2 separate regions of the Homo sapiens genome follow, and region 1 is linked to region 2. Evidence: promoter capture Hi-C in 16 types of primary human blood cells and fetal thymus (Javierre and others, 2016). All regions are on one chromosome and are shown on one strand. Each heading gives the region's core, a stretch centred on a gene start or on the middle of the fragment in contact. The rest is flanking DNA. Distances are from core to core; before and after follow the strand shown.

Evidence for each region. Contacts are between HindIII fragments. The CHiCAGO score rates a contact against its expected background, and 5 or more counts as called.
Region 1: a contact is called between the fragment with the promoter of SLC25A30-AS1 here and the fragment with the promoter of LRRC63 in region 2, in 1 of 17 cell types (monocytes). The highest score is 5.3, in monocytes.

What each region holds. Positions count from the first base shown.
Region 1 is chr13:45,416,263-45,419,411 of GRCh38, forward strand. SLC25A30-AS1 (SLC25A30 antisense RNA 1) reads left to right here and starts at 1,900. Exons shown (of 2, transcript NR_047031.1): 1 at 1,900-2,476. SLC25A30 (solute carrier family 25 member 30) reads right to left here and starts at 2,111. Exons shown (of 10, transcript NM_001010875.4): 1 at 2,038-2,111. RefSeq lists enhancers at 1,466-1,515, 2,326-2,515 and silencers at 1,746-2,075, 2,116-2,215. The HindIII fragment of the contact is 21,864 bases long and covers 1,348-3,149 here.
Region 2 is chr13:46,210,553-46,213,523 of GRCh38, forward strand. It overlaps LRRC63 (leucine rich repeat containing 63), which reads left to right and starts at 1,376. Exons shown (of 10, transcript NM_001282460.2): 1 at 1,376-1,707; 2 at 2,450-2,567. The coding sequence starts at 2,483. LOC107984578 (a long non-coding RNA gene) reads right to left here and starts at 1,300. Exons shown (of 4, transcript XR_001749863.3): 1 at 1-1,300. RefSeq lists a silencer at 1,132-1,461. The HindIII fragment of the contact is 5,320 bases long and covers 1-2,971 here.

The DNA of each region.
Region 1 (3,149 bases), core at 650-3,149, 790 kb before region 2:
CCAGGCATAGTGGTGGGCGCCTGTAATTCTAGCTATTCGGGAGGCTGAGGCAAGAGAACTGCCTGAACCTGGGAAGCGGAGGTTGCAGTAAGCTGAGACCGCACCACTGCACCCCGGCCTGGGCAACAAAAGCAAAACTCCATCTCAAATAAATAAATAAATATATAAATAAATACAAAAAAAAGTGAAAAATACAAAGTAAAAAAACAACAACAAAAATGTTAGCTGGGCTAGTCACACATACCTGTAATCCCAGCTACTTGGGAGGCTGAGGCTGGAGAATAGCTTGAGGCCAGGGGTTCAAGACCAGCCTGGGCAACAGAATGAGACGACCACCTATACTAAAAAAATCCAAAACATTATCTAGGTATGGTGGTACGCGACTCTAGTCCCAGCTACTCCGCAGGCTGAGGTGGAAGGGGCACATAAGCCCAGGACTTCAAGGCTGCAGTGAGCTAAGACCATGACACTGCACTCTAGCAGCCTGGGTGACAGAGCAAGACCCTGTCCCAAATAATAAATAAAGGTTAAAAACAAGTTTTCTGAATGAAATTGTCTATACAAATTAAGAATTTCAAAGGATTCTCCCTACACTTAGGATATATGCTAAGTTACACATCCTGTCTACATTTTCTCTTACATGGTTGCTTAGTATTTATTTTCACCCACCTGACCTCATGTGTACAGCTGTAAAGGGAGGTAATTAAATATAATACTAGCTGTTCGTACTTTTGAACGCTTTCCAAGTTTCTCTTATTTATTTATTTAGAGGCGGAGTTTTGTTCTTATTGCCCAGGCTGGAGTACAATAGCATGATCTCGGCTCACTGCAACCTCCGTCTCCTGGATTCAAGCGATTCTCCTGTCTCAACCTCCCGAGTAGCTAGAATTAGACATCCGTCACCACGCCCGGCTAATTTTGTATTTTTAGTAGAGACGGAGTTTCTCCATGTTGGCCAGGCTGGTCTCGAACTCCTGACCTCAGGTGATCCGCCCGCCTCGGCCTCCCAAAGTGCTGGGATTACAGGCCTGAGCCACCGCTCCCAGCCGTTTCTCTTATTTAATTCTTGGTAAGTTCTTTCAGTTTTACTTCCTGTTCCCTTTTTAGTCTTAAGTCTTAAAACTGTAATTGCACAGCCTTTAATGTGCTCTCATACATTTATTGTTCCTTGCTGGACCGACTGCCCTTTCAATAATGCCCTTTCATGAACTTTTCCTATTTCCTATTCTTTTTAAAGGTGCAGAAGGAAAACTAAGCTCATCACAGACTTACAAAAAGCCGGGTTTAAAAGAAATCTTCGAAATTATCATCTCGTTTCACGTTAATTAACTGAGCCCGCGGTCACAAAGCTTCGCAACGGCAAAGCCAAAAGCAAGATTCATGCCTTTCAACTTTCTCACTACCCAAGTAGCACCGCAAGCCGAATCCGCAGGGCAGTGCCAACATTGTTTGCTACTCTTGCGCAGAACAAAAATGCTAATCACTGCAACTGCTTTACATGAAAGTGCACCTAGAAAGACTTCAAAACCCAGAGGTACATTAACTTTCCAGGCAAGTTCCTCCCAGCCTGTGTGCCACGAGCGATTCCGAATGTGGTGTGCCCTCTCCCACAGTGCGAAGCTCGCGGGCGCTCAGGCTGCCGTTTGAATGAACGCACGAGTGGGAGGGACGCACAAGCAGGGTTGCAAGCCCGGGGCTCGTTAGCAGACGCGGAGATGCCAGGACGGGCTTCGCACTCGGATCTGAATGACCCTGGAACAGGAATCACCCCACGCCAACAGCGATGGGGGCCCCGCGGCACCGGCCCGACCCAAGGAGGCAGCAGCCCGAGAAGCAGAGCCCTGTCCCCAGTCCCCGGAACCTCGCGCCCCGCCGAGCCCGGCCCGGCCTGCGAAGTGGAGAGCACAGGCAGCCCCGAGCACGCCCGGTTGCAAAGGAGGCTCCTCGGAAATCGCAGCCCAACCTTACCCCAGGCCCGGGTTCCAGGAGCCGCAGAGAAAGCGGGGCCGGCAGGAGGAGGCACGGGCCAGGACTTACCTGGCGGCAGCGGCCCCACACCTCCTCCAACCCGGACTCAGTTGTAACAAGAACCTGAGGCCGCTGGAGAAAAGGAAAAAATGCCGTCGCGGGCGGGGCAGACCCACGAGCCTGCACGCAGCCCCGCGCCGCCCCGCCCCGTCCGCGCAAACACGCGACCTCCTCAGCTCCCATTGGTTTCTGCCAGCACTAGCCACACCCCTGACAGCCCCAGATGGGGACACGGAGGGGCGGGGCCCGTCCCAAGTGCCCCTCAGGATCTTCCCCTGCCGCTGCCTGAGGGAGCTGCCCGGGACTCGGTGACACCTGATGTGGCCTCCGATATCGACTGGGAGGTGGAAGAGAAATTTGGGGAACGCATCGAGAACCGTGGAAAAGCAACCTTCGCAGGGGGCAACCTTCTCACGGTGCCCCCGTGAACCTTCACAGTTGGATGGAAGTAAACTTGCCCTTATTTTTTTATACCCCAGCTTTTAGCTTGAAAATATACAGATTAGCCGGGCATAGCGGCGGGCGCTATAATCCCAGCTACTTGGGTGGCTGAGGCAGAAGAATCGCTTGAACCTGGGAGGCGGAGATTGCAGTGAGCAGAGAGCGTACCACTGCACTCCAGCCTGGGCAACAAAGCGAGACTTCGTCTCAAAAAAAAAAAAAAAAAAAAAAAAAAAAAAAAAAAAAAAAAAAAGCCAGACCTGGTGGCGGGTGCCTGTAATCCCAGCCACTCGGGAGGCTGAAACAGGAGAATCGCTTGAACCCGGGAGGCGGAGGTTGCAGTGAGCCAAGATCGCGCCACTGCACTCCAGCCTGGGCGACAAAGTGATACTCCCTCTTAAAAAAAAAAAAAAAAAAAAAGAAAGAAAATGTCCAAACAGAACAAAAAATTAAAAGAACCGTACTATGAGTAGAAATCTTTACATATATATCTAATATACATATATGTAAATATTTATTTATATATTAATATATAACATTTTTAACGGTATGGCAGTGTTTGTGTTCAAGCATACCCAGGTATATTTTTGTTTTGTTTTGTTTTTAGACAGAGCCTCACTCTTGTTGCCCAGGCTGGAGTGCAATGGCACCATCTCAGCTCACTGCAACCTCCGCCTCCC
Region 2 (2,971 bases), core at 126-2,625:
CATTTTTTGAAAAAGCATTCAGAAGCCTTGCTTTCGACTACACAAAGCTAAGCATAAATTTTAAAGGCCAAACGTCAGTCAGTAAAACTGAATTCCTGTAGTTCTCATGGTTCCAACGATCTTGAAGAGCATAGGTACCTGACTCAATTTACACTGTCATTTTTTATGCTTAAAAATATAAACCTTTTTTCACATTTACAAAATATGCACGATATATATTACTTGAGACTAATCTTAGCCACAGAGCTGCCTTTTATTTTCAGCTTTGTATTTCTGAGAAACTAATGAATCTATGGTGTAGATAACAGCAAAAGTGGAAATAAATTCATAGTCTGGGGCAGCAGTATAATTGGGACACAGTAAACTTACAAGGAAAAGAAACAGTACACTACTACTGTAAAGGAAAACAAGTTGCATAATATTTTCCAGAGTCTGATTACTTTTTTGTTAAAACTTTTCTACTTTTTTCATTGATTGTTTTAAAACATGTTTGCTACTAAGGAGAAAAAGGAAGACATGGTTATGGTGTGAATCTTGAAAGATCCCCAAAGCTAGAAAGATTTATACAGAAGTCTCTCATTTTCCAACTTCTGTTATAAAGTTCCTGCGCTAGTACTTAGAAAAAACCAAACCTGGAAGGAAGCTCTACCTAGTTTACTTTCTGAGTTCGGATTTCCGCATCTATCAGATGAGCTCTTTCTAGTGCTCTTTCCCCCTCAAATCTCCAGAGAAACACGCACATTTTTGCAAACACACACGATGTATCTATGACTGCACACACAGGTTCATCAACACCATGACAGAGGCGACACGTCACAATATGATAACCAGAACAGAGGACGATGACAGTGAGAAATGGGTTTCTTTTATGGCCCGCTTGGATCCCTAATGCCCTTATTTCTACACAATCCAGCCTCAGCCAGGAACTTTAAAGGATCAGAAAGAGAAAACAGGTTGCATGAAAGGAAGAGAAAGAAAACCGAATGCCCGCTTTTCGAGAGCACTGCAAAATTAGCCCCGGGACCCGGCTGCACAAAAGTGCAGCCTTAAAGAATGCCAGCCCATATTCTAGACACCCAAGTAAAGCATCCTGTAATCGAGAGAAAATAATAAATAATAGTGGTCATTGCCATTAAGCATAAAAATAGTAATAACAATTGTCACCACGGCGTTCCGTACAGCAGCTGCGCGTGGAGCCGGCTTCTCCTCCGGCCCCCACGGCCCGCAGCTTCCCCTGCAGCCCCACAGTGCGTCGGAGGAAGGCGAGGGCTCCGCGCGCGCTGCACCGTGGGCTGGGCCTGCCCCTCCCGGCGCCCGCCTCGCCTCGCCTGTCCCGCGCCCGCCTCGCCTGTCCCGCCCCCGCGCCTGCGCGTCAAGTGGCTGGGCTGGCTTAGCGGACCCCGGTTGCTAGGGTGTGTCTCCTTGGCCTCCTAGAGGGTGGGGATCCGTGGTGCTTCTTCGGGAACAGCCTCCTGCAGGAAGACCCTCGCTGGACCTTTACCTCGCTGCCTAGATTCCGAGGAAAAGGAGATAGGAGACGAAAAGCCAGTTGGTTTGGAAAGCGGCCGATTATCCTAAAGGGTAGTGTGGGAGTCCAGCACTTCCATGCCCCTCTTTGGGTACTACGGAAGGGAGATTTCCAGCATCGTGTGGAACATATGACCAGGGAGTACACCTTGAGCGCTTGTGTGCAGTTATCTTTTGGCGGTAAACGGCCCATTTGTGCAGTTTCAGGGTGTTCCCTTCTAGGCTATCAATGGAATAATGCCGTGCCAGGCACTTTTGATGTTGCCCTGCAAACTAAAAGCACATTTTGGGGGTGCATCTTCTCGCATTATTTCTAAACAGTATGAGTTGGGATCCAGCAGCCCTGGGAAATCTCATTATAGTGAAACCCATCTTATTTTAGGATTGAATTGTTTTGGCCCAAGCATAGTGGTTGAAAAACAAGCCATTATAGAAAGAAAACAATTTGTTTGTGAATGGTTAGATATGGTGGGTCTTCAGAGGCTTATCTAATGAAGGCATCTTCTACACATTTCTGACCAAATTCTCTTTCTACATTTATAGCGATAACATTTTGGAGAGAGAGAAAAAAAATGTCATTTCGACTATTCTGAAAAATCAGTATTTACTAGTTGAAATAGCATTGGCAAATTGAACTTTGTACTAACATGGAAAATTGTAGAATGATCCTGGGTAGTAATAATACACATATTTTTAAAATTCTATGTTTACTTATAACCCTACATTTTAACTGGATTCTTTCTATTAATAGAAGTTTTAAAGAATTATTTTCTTACCCTCTTTTTTTTTCATAAAGGAATTCTGCCTGGATTCAGTAGAGTATTGGTACAGAATGATTTTCTTTAAGATGTAATCTAAATTCTTATTATTTTTCAACAATTCAAACATATTCAAAACCTTTTCAATTCTCATTTAAACCAAGGATTATGAAAAACAGCACTTATTATTCATTAAAATGCAAAAGCCCCCACTGCTTCTTCGAAGACCCTTACCTCCAAAATTCACTAAGCTGTCTTTACATGAGAAAAAAACCCATACAGGTATGTGTATTAATCAGATATGTGTATTAACATTTATGTATCTTTCATAGAAATTCCTTGACTTGCACAGCTCAGAATCACAATAAATACACTCACTAATAACTTACAAATGTTTGTTGTCAGGTGATAACATCCAATTCAATTCCACAGATGCATTTACTGATACTTATTGGTGGACTTAGTAGATTCAAGTTTATCTCATCGATAAAATTTACTTGTAACCCCAGAATTGGTACTCAAAGGGCTTTCTCAGTCATGCGTGGATATGTGCAGAGCACTGAAAATGAGTCACCCAACACACATGCCTCCAGCTGAGGTGGAACAAGGCTACCTCTACCTTCTTGTTTCAGCTCTCATATTGTAAACGGGTACTGTTTTCCCTGTCTGTTTAGCTCTATGTTTCT